Regions from separate parts of the Homo sapiens genome. Here regions 1 and 2 are each linked to region 3. The links are contacts of gene promoters, found by promoter capture Hi-C in blood cells and fetal thymus (Javierre and others, 2016). All regions are on one chromosome and are shown on one strand. The core of a region is centred on a gene start or on the middle of the fragment in contact, and the rest is flanking DNA. Distances in the headings are between cores, read along the strand shown. Region 1 has its middle 45 kb from the start of LINC01967. Region 2 holds the start of NEK10 (NIMA related kinase 10). Region 3 holds the start of EOMES (eomesodermin).

Region 1 (3,531 bases), core at 941-3,440, 260 kb after region 3:
TCTGTGTTCCCACCCAAATCTCATCTTGAATTGTACCGCCATAATTCCTACATGTTGTGGGAGGGACTTGATGGGAAATAATTGGGAATCATGGGGGCAGTTTCTCCCATACTATTCTCGTGGTAGTGAATAAGTCTCACGAGATCTGATGGGTTTATCAGGGGTTTCCACTTTTGCATCCTTCTCATTTTCTCTTGCCACCGCCACATAAGAAGTGTATTTTGCCTCCCGCCATGGTTCTGAGGCCTCCCCAGCCACATGGAACTGTTAAGTCCAACTAAACCTCTTTTTCTTCCCAGTCTCGGATATGTCTTTATCAGCTACATGAGGTGGTTAGATGCTGGGGGCAGATTTCTCATAAATGGTTTTGTACCACCTTGCTTAGTACTGTCCTCATGATAGTGAGTGAGTTCTTGTAACATCTGGTCATTTAAAAATGTGTAGCACCTCCTTCCTCACACTGATGCTCCTGCTTTTGCCATGTGAGCTGCCTGGTCCCCCTATGCCTTCTGCATGATTGTAAGCTTCCTGAGGCCTCCCCTGAAGAAGATGCCACTATACTTCCTGTACAGCCTACAGAACTATGAGCCAATTAAATCTCTTTTCTTTATAAATTACCCAGTCTCAAATATTTCTTTATAGCAATGCAAGAATAGACTAATTCAGAGGTATTCACCAAAGTGTATGACAACATTATAAGTTCATCGAAAGCAAGACTGTGGTTGCATGTGTACCATAGCTGGCTAAGTACATAATACATATTGACCCTTGCAGACTGACTAATGGAAGCAGCTATGTTTTATCTCCTCAGCAGGTTGACAGAGAAGGAACATGTATCTCTAGGTCACTTCCTATTATGTTTTTCAAAGGTTCCAGGTGGTAAATCCACAACTTCAAAAATTCCCTTCTGGTACCCTTAAAAGAATTAGTGGATAACAGGGCCCCTCCCTTAAAAAATTTTCCCCTCTTATTACTTCACTCAGATTGCTTAGGATGTCAAATTCATTTGGAACATTTGAAAAAAGCGAGGGTATAATGAAAACAGTGGGTTCTTTGAAGTCAGACAAACTGGGTTCAAATCCAGTCTCATTCCTCCTTATAACTCTGAGAACAAAGGCAAGTTATTTAACCTCTCAAACGTTGTGCTTTCTTCTTTTATAAAAAGGTGGTGATGAGTGGTTGTTAGAATTAAACGTGTATAAAGCTATTAATTGAGATAATGCCTGTCATTTAGGTAATTATCAACTTTGACCTCTATGATCCTTGATTTCTCTTCCGAAGAAGAGGATAATGGTGATATTCATTTCATATGGTTAGTGTAAGTATTGAATGTACAGCCCAGAGGGAAGAGTAAAGGGGGGTGGTGGTATGTGAAAGTTACTGTTTTGAGGATATATTTTACTCCATGATAATTAATTTAAAGCATTGTTCACATTAAAGCAAACACAGAGGTATATTTAAATAGAAAGGAATACGCATGATTTCATACTAAAACACACATTTCAGAGCAAATTTCTGGTTTGCTCCAGGATATACAGGGCCACTCCTTAGATGCTATGGAATTATGTATACCCATTCTGCTGTTAAGGTAGTTTGGAGGAACAATTTGGAAAACACTAAGAAAATCATTGGTAAACCATAAAACACAAAAAATGTTAATTGAAATGATACATCTGGTGTCTGCTAAGCTTATTCAGTATGACCAAGAGGCAGGGGTCAGACACACAAATCAAGCATAAATTTGTTCTGCTACATTTTTAGCATATGCCTATATCCACCAGCTCCAGTATTCTTCCCTCTAACACTGTCCACCAAAGGTTGTTCCACTTCCCTTGGGAGACTGAAAAATTCTTTGAGAACTGATTGGCCTTGTGGATTTAATTCCCCTAAGGAGACATTAAGGTAGATTCCAGCAAGTTTCTGGGGGTTTTTCAAGTGAATCTGATTCACCGTATTCTCCCTTCAGAGAAAGTGGCAAACACTAAGTTTCCAAGTCACAGGAATATCACACTTTATACTGCCTGCAAGAGTTTTCTAACTGCTAACCTGATAATCTGATGCTTAGTTTTCTTAACAATTCATCCTATGTATATCTAAAAGTTACATATTATTGGGAAATTTTTGTGTTCAGAAAGCTATTTGTTACAAAAATTATATTCACACTTCCCCTGTCACCATCATAATAATCAACACAAAATCCTCCTGGAAAACAGCAAGTGAATATGTGATAAGCCAATGGTATAACTGGGCTACTATACCTGCGGATTATTAGTTGCACATGGTAGACAGTCAAGGTTGGGTGATTTATTTATTCATTCAACAAATATTTGCTGAAGGCCTAAAATAGGCCAGACACTTGCCAAGGCATCAGATGGATAGATGGATGAATGGATGGACAGATGGATGGATGGATGAATGGATGGATAGATACACTTATGATGATTACATCAATGAATGGATGGCTCTCCAAAATGCATGACAACTAACATCTGATTTAAACTAACATTGTAACCCTAGAAAAGAGCAAGGGTAGAGAACATTTTTTTTTTTTTTTTTTAAGAAAAAAGGTCAGGTCTATAACTACTGGGACACACACTATTTTAGATATAACTTGGGCTCTGAGCAGAATTTGTTGGGTGTTTGTGATAGTTAATCATAGGAAAAATTACAAGTAATTTCAAACTTACTAAGTAAAAGCTTTTCTTTGATTTCACAGCCAATATACAGATTCCCTTAATCCTACTTGGAATAAATATTTTGATTTTCCCCTGTTAGAGACTCTCAGCTCTAGCTTGTTGGAGAAGTACCAGCTTTCAAATCTAAGGAGAAAATTAAAATTTCTGTTATGTTTTAATTTATATTTTCAGTTTTTATAAGCTATGCTCAAACTTTGCTTTTGGAAAAATCATTTATCTTAGTGATTGCCTGCCACATCTATGTAGTACATTGATTACAAATGTCAGCTTCCTGGAAGACCAGGACTTTCTGGCTGTCTTGTTTATTTCGTTGCAACATGGTCCAGTGTAGAATGAATGAATGAATGAATGAATGAATTCAAAATGCAGACTAAGTTTTATCATTGCTGTTGTGACATTCTACCTTCCTACACATTGGACCATACCTCTCCATCACATTCTAACTCTTCATCTTTGCAGCTCCATTTTATCCTTGATAACAGGGCATATTGAAAGAAAAAAGTGAAAGCAGTAGGAACAAAGAAAATATATTAAAAGTTAACATTTATTGTATTTAAATAAAGTCAGAAAAAGCCATACGTATTGTATCAGTCATTTCTTTCTCCTAGGCCACATAATAACAGTGGTTATAACATGTTTAAAAAGTAGATATTCTCTCCTAGCAAGGTCCAAGTCTTGAAATAGACCAAGCTACCCACTTTCTCTGTTATAAGCAAAATATTCTAGAATCACATAGAAATAGTCCTAGTTGATATTTTTTCCCCAAGTCTTATTAGGGTCTGGCTTTGAGACTGTATAATTTTCACCCACCAAGACAATGGTTAAAATAATACCT
Region 2 (3,589 bases), core at 160-2,659, 350 kb before region 3:
AGGGAATCCAAGAGCAGCAGCAGACATGGGGAAGATGGCGTTCAGGGTTGCACATGTGTGGCGTTAACTTGGCAGCTGGATTTTGGGGTCTGACAGTTAGTAGAGCAGGCTAGGTTCCAGTTGGAGACTTTCTAATCATCGTCAGATAGATGGTGCCTGAGGCGAGGAAGTGGAAGGGCTCACCGAAGTAGGGCAGAAAAGCAGAGGGGCAAAGTCAAAGCAGCATCCTGTAAGGAGAAGGCAGAAAAGCGACGCTCATAGAGATGAAGAATGAACCTCCAGAGGCGTCGGAGCAGATTGGAAGAGACACATTCAGGCTCCATTTAACCAGAATAATTCCGTTATCAAAATGGAAGCGCCAAGAAGCATCGTTGATGGCGCTTTCCCACCATCCATCCGTCCAACACAAACCCACCTGCTTTGAAAAGACTGCCTCACGCAGTGACTCACTTACCCACCACAGCCGCATTCTCTACCTCTGCCTCTTGTCTAGTGAAGCTGGCTCCCGAGGCTTCGGGGCCGCTCCACAGGGACCTGAGGACGTCTCCCCGGAGACCCTGACTCAAGCTGCTCGCCGGCACAGCCGAGCACCGGCTCCCGCCTACTCACCGCGCGGGAGGGACGGTCCCTCCTTCAGGCCAATCTCCTTATCATTGTCCCTGCTGCTGTCACCTGCTGCTGCAGACCGGGGGTCCCGTCCAGTCTCAGCCCGTCCCGTCCTCCCCCCAGCCTATTCCCGGTCCCCTCAACCTCAGGGACACCGCGGCCAGCTGCACCGTTGGTTTTCCAATCAAATCCTCCTCCAGGCCACCAACCAGCGCTGGCCAGGCCAATGCCGACAATTCTTCCTCCGCCACCTGGGGCGCCTCAGCCAATCGGGAGCAGCCATGCTGCGCAGTGCAGAACGCCATAGCGACGGATGACGCCTGCCGGGGAATCGCCGTAGCAACCAGAGACGCGCTAGATCCACCACCAAGCTTGCAAGCAGAAGAGGCAGCAAGTGATGCTGAAGGCTGTGCTGCAGCCACTTCACCGGAACCTAGAGCTACCTGTGAACAGGTCTCCTACACGTTGAAGATTTTTCTGGATTTAGGGTGTCTAACCTTTGATGGGAAAGGGCAGCTTCATCTTGGAGTGTTTACTTTCAAGAATTGCTATGGGCTAAAAATCAATTCTCTTTAAAAGCAAAGATTTAATCTGATAAGGAATCAATGCAGCATGCTAAATACCTTTCATATGGCATGAAAACGTCTTCAGTTACTCAAGCCACAGGCAATGAGAATAAGGTGCCACAGCACCGTATTTTTCACAAAAAGAGTGACCTGGGATTCAAGAAACCTGTATAGTATAACTATCGCCAGTTCGTTTTGTGGCTTTGGGCAAGTCACTTCACCTTTTGTGAAAGTCTGGAGCTTCTTTAAAATTTCTGAACTGCATTAGATAACGCTTTAAAAATATACCTGACATTCTGTAACTTTAAATAAATGAAAAATGCCAATCTATTAAGTGCTTAATTTTGTGCCGGGCACGATTTCAAATTCTTTCCTTATTTCACTTAGTTATAAAATGGAGGCACAAGAAGTTTCCTAAGTAGTCCAGTATGGCAGAGCTAGTGATGGAGTCAGGGTAAAACCTACTTCGAGTCTGGTCTTAACCACGATGATGCTCCTTCGACGATTTCTTCGAGTACTGGGCCCTGTTCAACCTCATCTTGGTATCACTAAACGCTCGTGTGTGTGTCTGGTGGTTACATCTTCCCAAACTGGATTTTAAATGAATACAGTGAACCCTAACGTTTTTCTGGTGTGGATAGTAAGTAGGCCCATTGGATTAACAATACTTAAGCTTGGGTAATTGAAAGCATTTTTTAAAATGAAGACGGTCCTATTTTGGAAATGCAGAAAGGCGAGATGAAAGCCAAACTCTGGTGAGTATAGCAGAACTAATTAAACTTCAGAGATCTAAAACAATCAGGATTAATGTTACCAATAAAACAAAACAAGGTGACGGGGCAGGAAGACCGATGCTGAGTAGAAAAAGTATTCTGTACATACATTCTAAATGTTAAGCAGTCGGCCTGGCTTGGTGGCTCACACCTGTAATCCTAGCACTTTGGGAGGCCGAGGCAGGAGGACCACTTGAGGTTAGGAGTTCGAGACCAGCCTGGCCATCATGGCCAAACCCTGTTTCTACTAAAAACAGAAAAATCAGCCGGGCATGGTGGCACATGCTAGTCCCTACTACTCAGGAGGCTGAGGCACAAGAATTACTTGAACCCAGGAAGCAGAGGTGCAGTGAGCCAAGATCATGCCACTGCACTCCAGCCTGAGAGACACAGCAAGACTCTATCTCAAAAAATAAACATTAAGCAGTGAGACATGACTGCACTGAACTTCTCATCTTCACCAGAATACCAATTGTGCTTCCCATCTTTCCACTACTCAGTAAAATTAAAGTCTTAAACTAATGTTTTGGCCATCCCAGAATATTCCTGAACTTCCCTGAAAGCTGCAGCGATTAAGAGGCAAGAATGACACTGCCTCTAAAAGACACATACACTATCATCTCAAATGTTAAGGGTCCCTCTGTAAAATGACACAAAATAAAATCCCACAAGAGATCTTGCACCAAGCTTATAGCTTATATAGCAAGGCTCAAAACTATGAAAACATATTTTTCTAAGGCCTTTTTTTAAATGAAATGCATAACGTAAATTATACAGTTCAAAAGTAAAACAGCATAATGTCCTAACTACAGCATAAAGGTAACAAATCTGCATGTAAGTAGATATTCAGGATCACCTCAACAAGAAGATAAAACCACTTCCCAAAATTTATAAATACTTTAGCCCAATGGTCTAGAACAAGAAAAGGCTATTCACACACACACACACACACACACACACACACAATCTAAGTGGAGGAATGAGAATGATCTTGTAGACTGAAAGCAGAAGGCTGAGTACAATTTGAAGTAAAGGCAGAACTTAAATTGGGCTTTGAAAGAAAAGCAGAAAGGTTTTCTAAACAGCAGAAATGTTTTCATTAAAAGCACAGAGGTAGGAACGTATGGGTCAACCATGAAAAGAAGTGATACTCAAGAGATCAGATATGCCTTTATTGGCCAGATCAAAGAGAGCTAACTCTTTTCCTCTCTCCTCTTGCAGAATCTCAAAGGTCTGTAGCTAGGAATTATAAATTGACAAAAAAAATTTTCCCCTAAAATAAATGTAAACTACATTTTCAAATGAAATTTCCAAAAACATAAGTGTCTATCCCCATCTTATTCCAAAGGCTATCAAATTCATGGTGAGGTTATCAGATGTTTTTCAGTGCAGAAAACACAAAAGGAAAGTGTTCCACACATGCCAAATGAAAAACAAACCAAGACCTGTAATTTGCTATTAAGGAAAATAATTCCTAATAAACTAAGTCACTAAAAACAAAGAAAGAGGCCGGACGTGGTGGCTCACACCTGTAATCCCAGCACTTTGGTAGGCTGAGGCGAGCAGATCACGAGGTCAGGGGATCGAGACCATCCTGGCTAACACGGTGAAACCCCGTCTCTACTAAAAAAATACAAAAAATTA
Region 3 (3,565 bases), core at 638-3,137:
AAAGTTTGCAGTGAACAGAATGCTGGTAGATCAAGTGGTCTGAAACTATGTAAAATATTTTTGAGTTGGCAACTCTTGGAACCTTTCCGTCTTTTCAAAAAAAAAAAAAAAAAAAAAAAAAAAAAAAAAAAAAAAAGCTTGCCCCAACATCGGTATATTCCAAATTCGCGCGTGCTTCCGAAGGCTCATATTCTCGGCCCTTTCAGACGCTCTTAAAATTTTTCTCCTAGAATGTTAAAAACTACTAATTTTTAAATGCACCATTTTGAAAAGTACCAGAGAACAATATTAGGTTATTCTTGTTAAAAATATATATTAAAACTTTAGGCTAAAAGTCCCCTTTGAGTGCCCCTCTCTCAGCACCCACCCCTCCCTTTCCCCAGAAGTAGCCAGTGTTAGCAGTTGGATGTATATCAGAACTTTCTCGCGCACCGAACCCGAGCCAGGTCTGGCTCCAGGGCAGATCTAACCACCTACTCCGACCGAGCTTCCGAGGCCGGCGCTCTAGCCTTCATGCCCACCTCCCGGAGACGCCCCGTGGAGACCCTGGCGCCTAAAACTGCGGGAGCCCATCTACTGCGCTCAGGTGGCCAGCTCTTGAGCCTTCCCTATCCGTGGCTCCTTGCCGGCATGCAGGCATGCACAAGCATACCGCCGAGCAGGAGGATCTAACGAATCCAGCTTGTGGACATGCCCTAATTTCCATTTCCGCCTCCTCCAGGTCTGTTCAGGTGAGGATGATGGGAGGGAAAAGCGGTGTACAGCCGTAACATTGGCACCCTGCAAGAGCCGCCGGGGCACTGACACAGAGGGACACCGCATTGGAGATGCGGTGTCTACGGAGATTTATTGCGCGCGGTGAAACACTCTAAGCACCGCGCGGAACAACTGGGTTCAGCTCCCTCATCCCGGACCTTCCCCAGGACCACACGTCACCCTTTATCCCCGAACCCAGGGGCCCCTCCACGCTGCGCTCACCTGCCCTGTTTCGTAATGATCATCTCAGTTTGGTGGCGGTGGAATTTGAGCCACAGAGGCCGGTTGCACAGGTAGACGTGGGCACGGAAGCCAGAACCTGGAACCCCCAGGCCCCCCAGTCCTCCGCAAGATCCCGCCGCTGCGGCTCCAGGGTACGGCCCGTAGAGCGGAGCCCCCTGGCTGTACTGATAGGTGCCCGGGCCGCCGCCCCCGCCGCTGCTACCGCCCGCGCCACTGCCCGCACCGGCTCCTGGGCCGAACTGCGCCCTCCCGGGTGGGCACACAGCCGCGGGGAAGCCGCCGGGGGGCAGCATGGAGCCGTAGGGGTAGCGCGCCCCGTTAGGAGCCGGGTACACAGGTCCGTGGGGCGCCCCAGCCGCCGCCTGGTACGGGAAGAGTGAGCAGGGCGCAGCCAGCTCCGACCCCTGAGGACCGGGGGACTGGAGGTAGTACCGCTCGGAGCTCAGGCTGTCCATGGAGTAGCGCGCAGTGGCCGCAGCCGCGGCGGCGGCGGCGGCGGCGGCTGCAGCGGCGGAGGGCAGCTCCTCCTCCCCGCAGGGGGAGCCCTTGCGGCCGTCCGGGGGCCCCGGCTTGGCCACTGCCGCAGCGCTGGCAAATGCGTCCCCGGCGTCGGTGTCACTAAGCATGGCCGCGGGGGCCCCTGCGCTGGCGGCTGCGGGCTCCCCGCTCACCGCCTCGCAGGAGAGACTGCCGGAAAACTTCTTGGACGCTTTGTCTAAGTCCAACTTCTGAGGAGAGGGGGCCGCGCTGGGGAGGTGGCCAGCGCTCCCGCCGCTGCCGCCTCGCGCACTCTCCAGCGGGTAGAAGTGCGCGCCAGGCAGGTTCACTGAGCTCACCAAGAGCTGCTCCCCTAACTGCATGCTTTGCAAAGCGCAGACGGCAGCTGGCTGCTTCCTCTCCTCCGGTGGCCTTATTATAAAGGCAGGATGGGGGAGCCAGCGCCCTCTTCCGAGGGGAAGGTAACTTCCCCTTCCTCCCGCGCCGGGGCTACCCACCTGCCGACTCGCGGGCCGCTACTGCGCGTACTGGCGCGCCCTGAATCCAGCGTCCTTTCCGGAAGGAAAGCGCCGTGAGTTGGAAAGCAGGAGGTGGAAACTAACCCAGAAGCCCTCTCCTTTTCCTTCCTCGTACCTCTTGCTCCTCAGGACCCCCACCCTCCTCCCAGGCTCACACGCTGGAAGAAGGTGACTTAGATCTTTGTCCCCATCCACCCACTAGCCCGCGCCTTTCTGCCCTTTTTCAATTGCCAAAGCATCGGTCAAGTTGACCACTTGGAAACTTATGGGCTGTCACTAGCTGCTTTATATATTTGCGGCCAGGGAGGGGCTTCCCGGCCTCACAGCCCGGAGACCCTCCTATTGGCTGGTGGAGGTGACACTAATTCAATTAGGCATTTACTAATTGGATCAAGTCGCCTGTGACTTTCTTTTCCTTTTTTTTTTTTTTTTTTTTTTTTTTTTTTTGAGACTGCGTCCCGCTGTGATAATCAATCCTGGTGTCTGTAATTTCGCCGGAATTTAGGGGGACAAAGTTTGGGGTCTCCATAGCGGTGTCCACCCTTGGCGCATTAGTCATCTCAGCCCTCCGCTGGAGGAATGAGATGGCTGGAGCAGATTTTAGAGGCCAGAGAGAGAAAGACTCTTCAAGCTGATAGCTTGCAGGGAAGCGCCCGTCCCGGAGGCTGGGGAAACTGGGGCAAGTTGGAGACAGGCCCAAGGAAGTCTCTTTCCTCGTCGGAAGCTGTAACTTCAAAGCACACCTTCCTCTTGTCGAAGGCAAACTCCCTGGCCTTCAACGCACAGAACCACTTTTTGTTTGTTCCCATCCTTTTACCCAGTGGGAAAGGTTTGTAGAGAGGAAACTCGCGCTAAGCTTTTGGGATTCCGGGGACGGCCAGAGCACATTGCCATCCTGGAGGACCTAAGCTCTCAGCTTCTAAATCAGAAGCTTGGACAGGGTACTGGGGACAGGACAAGAGTGAAACTAAGCGAGCTAACACCAACTTCATACTCACGCCAACACAACTGCTTTCGGGGAGACAGTCACTTTTATTCCCCACAATTTAAAATCCTTTCTGCTCAGTTTTCCTGATCCCGGATTCCGTCCCTTCACCACCATCTTCAGTTAGGCCTGACACCAAGAAACAAAGCTTCCCTAACAGCCCCACAGTTAGGATTCCCTGCGCCTCTGCTCTGCGGCAAATACAGAAGGTAGAATAATTAGTGAAATAATCAGTTTGATATTGAATTAAACTCCAGCTGCTTGTTTCTTCGCTGCGTTTCCTCAGATAGATTCAAGAGCGGGGCCGTCATATTTTATCGTTTCATTATTACGGAAGCGGGGGGCACGTTTCGTTGCGGATAAGGAGAAGCCTGAATATTCGCTGTTAATAAGCAATTACAGACGCCGCCAGTAATCGCTCCGGGAGCGCATTTTCCGGCTGAGATGTCGGGACTCTGCTTCCCCAACCGAACGCGATCACACGGGAAACTCTTCGCCCACAACAGATGAGATGGCCAAAGGATTGCTGAGTGCGCACACGCAAGTGTAGAACAGTGCGAAGCTT

The links. The method cuts DNA at HindIII sites, captures the fragments that hold promoters and counts their contacts. A CHiCAGO score of 5 or more calls a contact.
Region 1: a contact is called between a fragment that was not itself captured here and the fragment with the promoter of EOMES in region 3, in 6 of 17 cell types (total CD8 T cells, total CD4 T cells, non-activated CD4 T cells and 3 more). The highest score is 10.8, in total CD8 T cells.
Region 2: a fragment that was not itself captured here is called in contact with the fragment with the promoter of EOMES in region 3 in 6 of 17 cell types (naive CD8 T cells, total CD8 T cells, non-activated CD4 T cells and 3 more); the score reaches 9.0 in naive CD8 T cells.

What each region holds. Positions count from the first base shown.
Region 1 is chr3:27,981,731-27,985,261 of GRCh38, forward strand. No RefSeq gene overlaps it. Among named protein-coding and RNA genes, the nearest start is that of LINC01967, 45 kb to the right of the region's middle. The HindIII fragment of the contact is 1,009 bases long and covers 1,687-2,695 here.
Region 2 is chr3:27,368,616-27,372,204 of GRCh38, forward strand. NEK10 (NIMA related kinase 10) reads right to left here and starts at 768. Exons shown (of 36, transcript NM_001394966.1): 1 at 610-768. RefSeq lists an enhancer at 26-526. The HindIII fragment of the contact is 868 bases long and covers 976-1,843 here.
Region 3 is chr3:27,720,436-27,724,000 of GRCh38, forward strand. It overlaps EOMES (eomesodermin), which reads right to left and starts at 1,888. Exons shown (of 6, transcript NM_001278182.2): 1 at 979-1,888. The coding sequence starts at 1,859. RefSeq lists a silencer at 1,314-1,523. The HindIII fragment of the contact is 2,734 bases long and covers 136-2,869 here.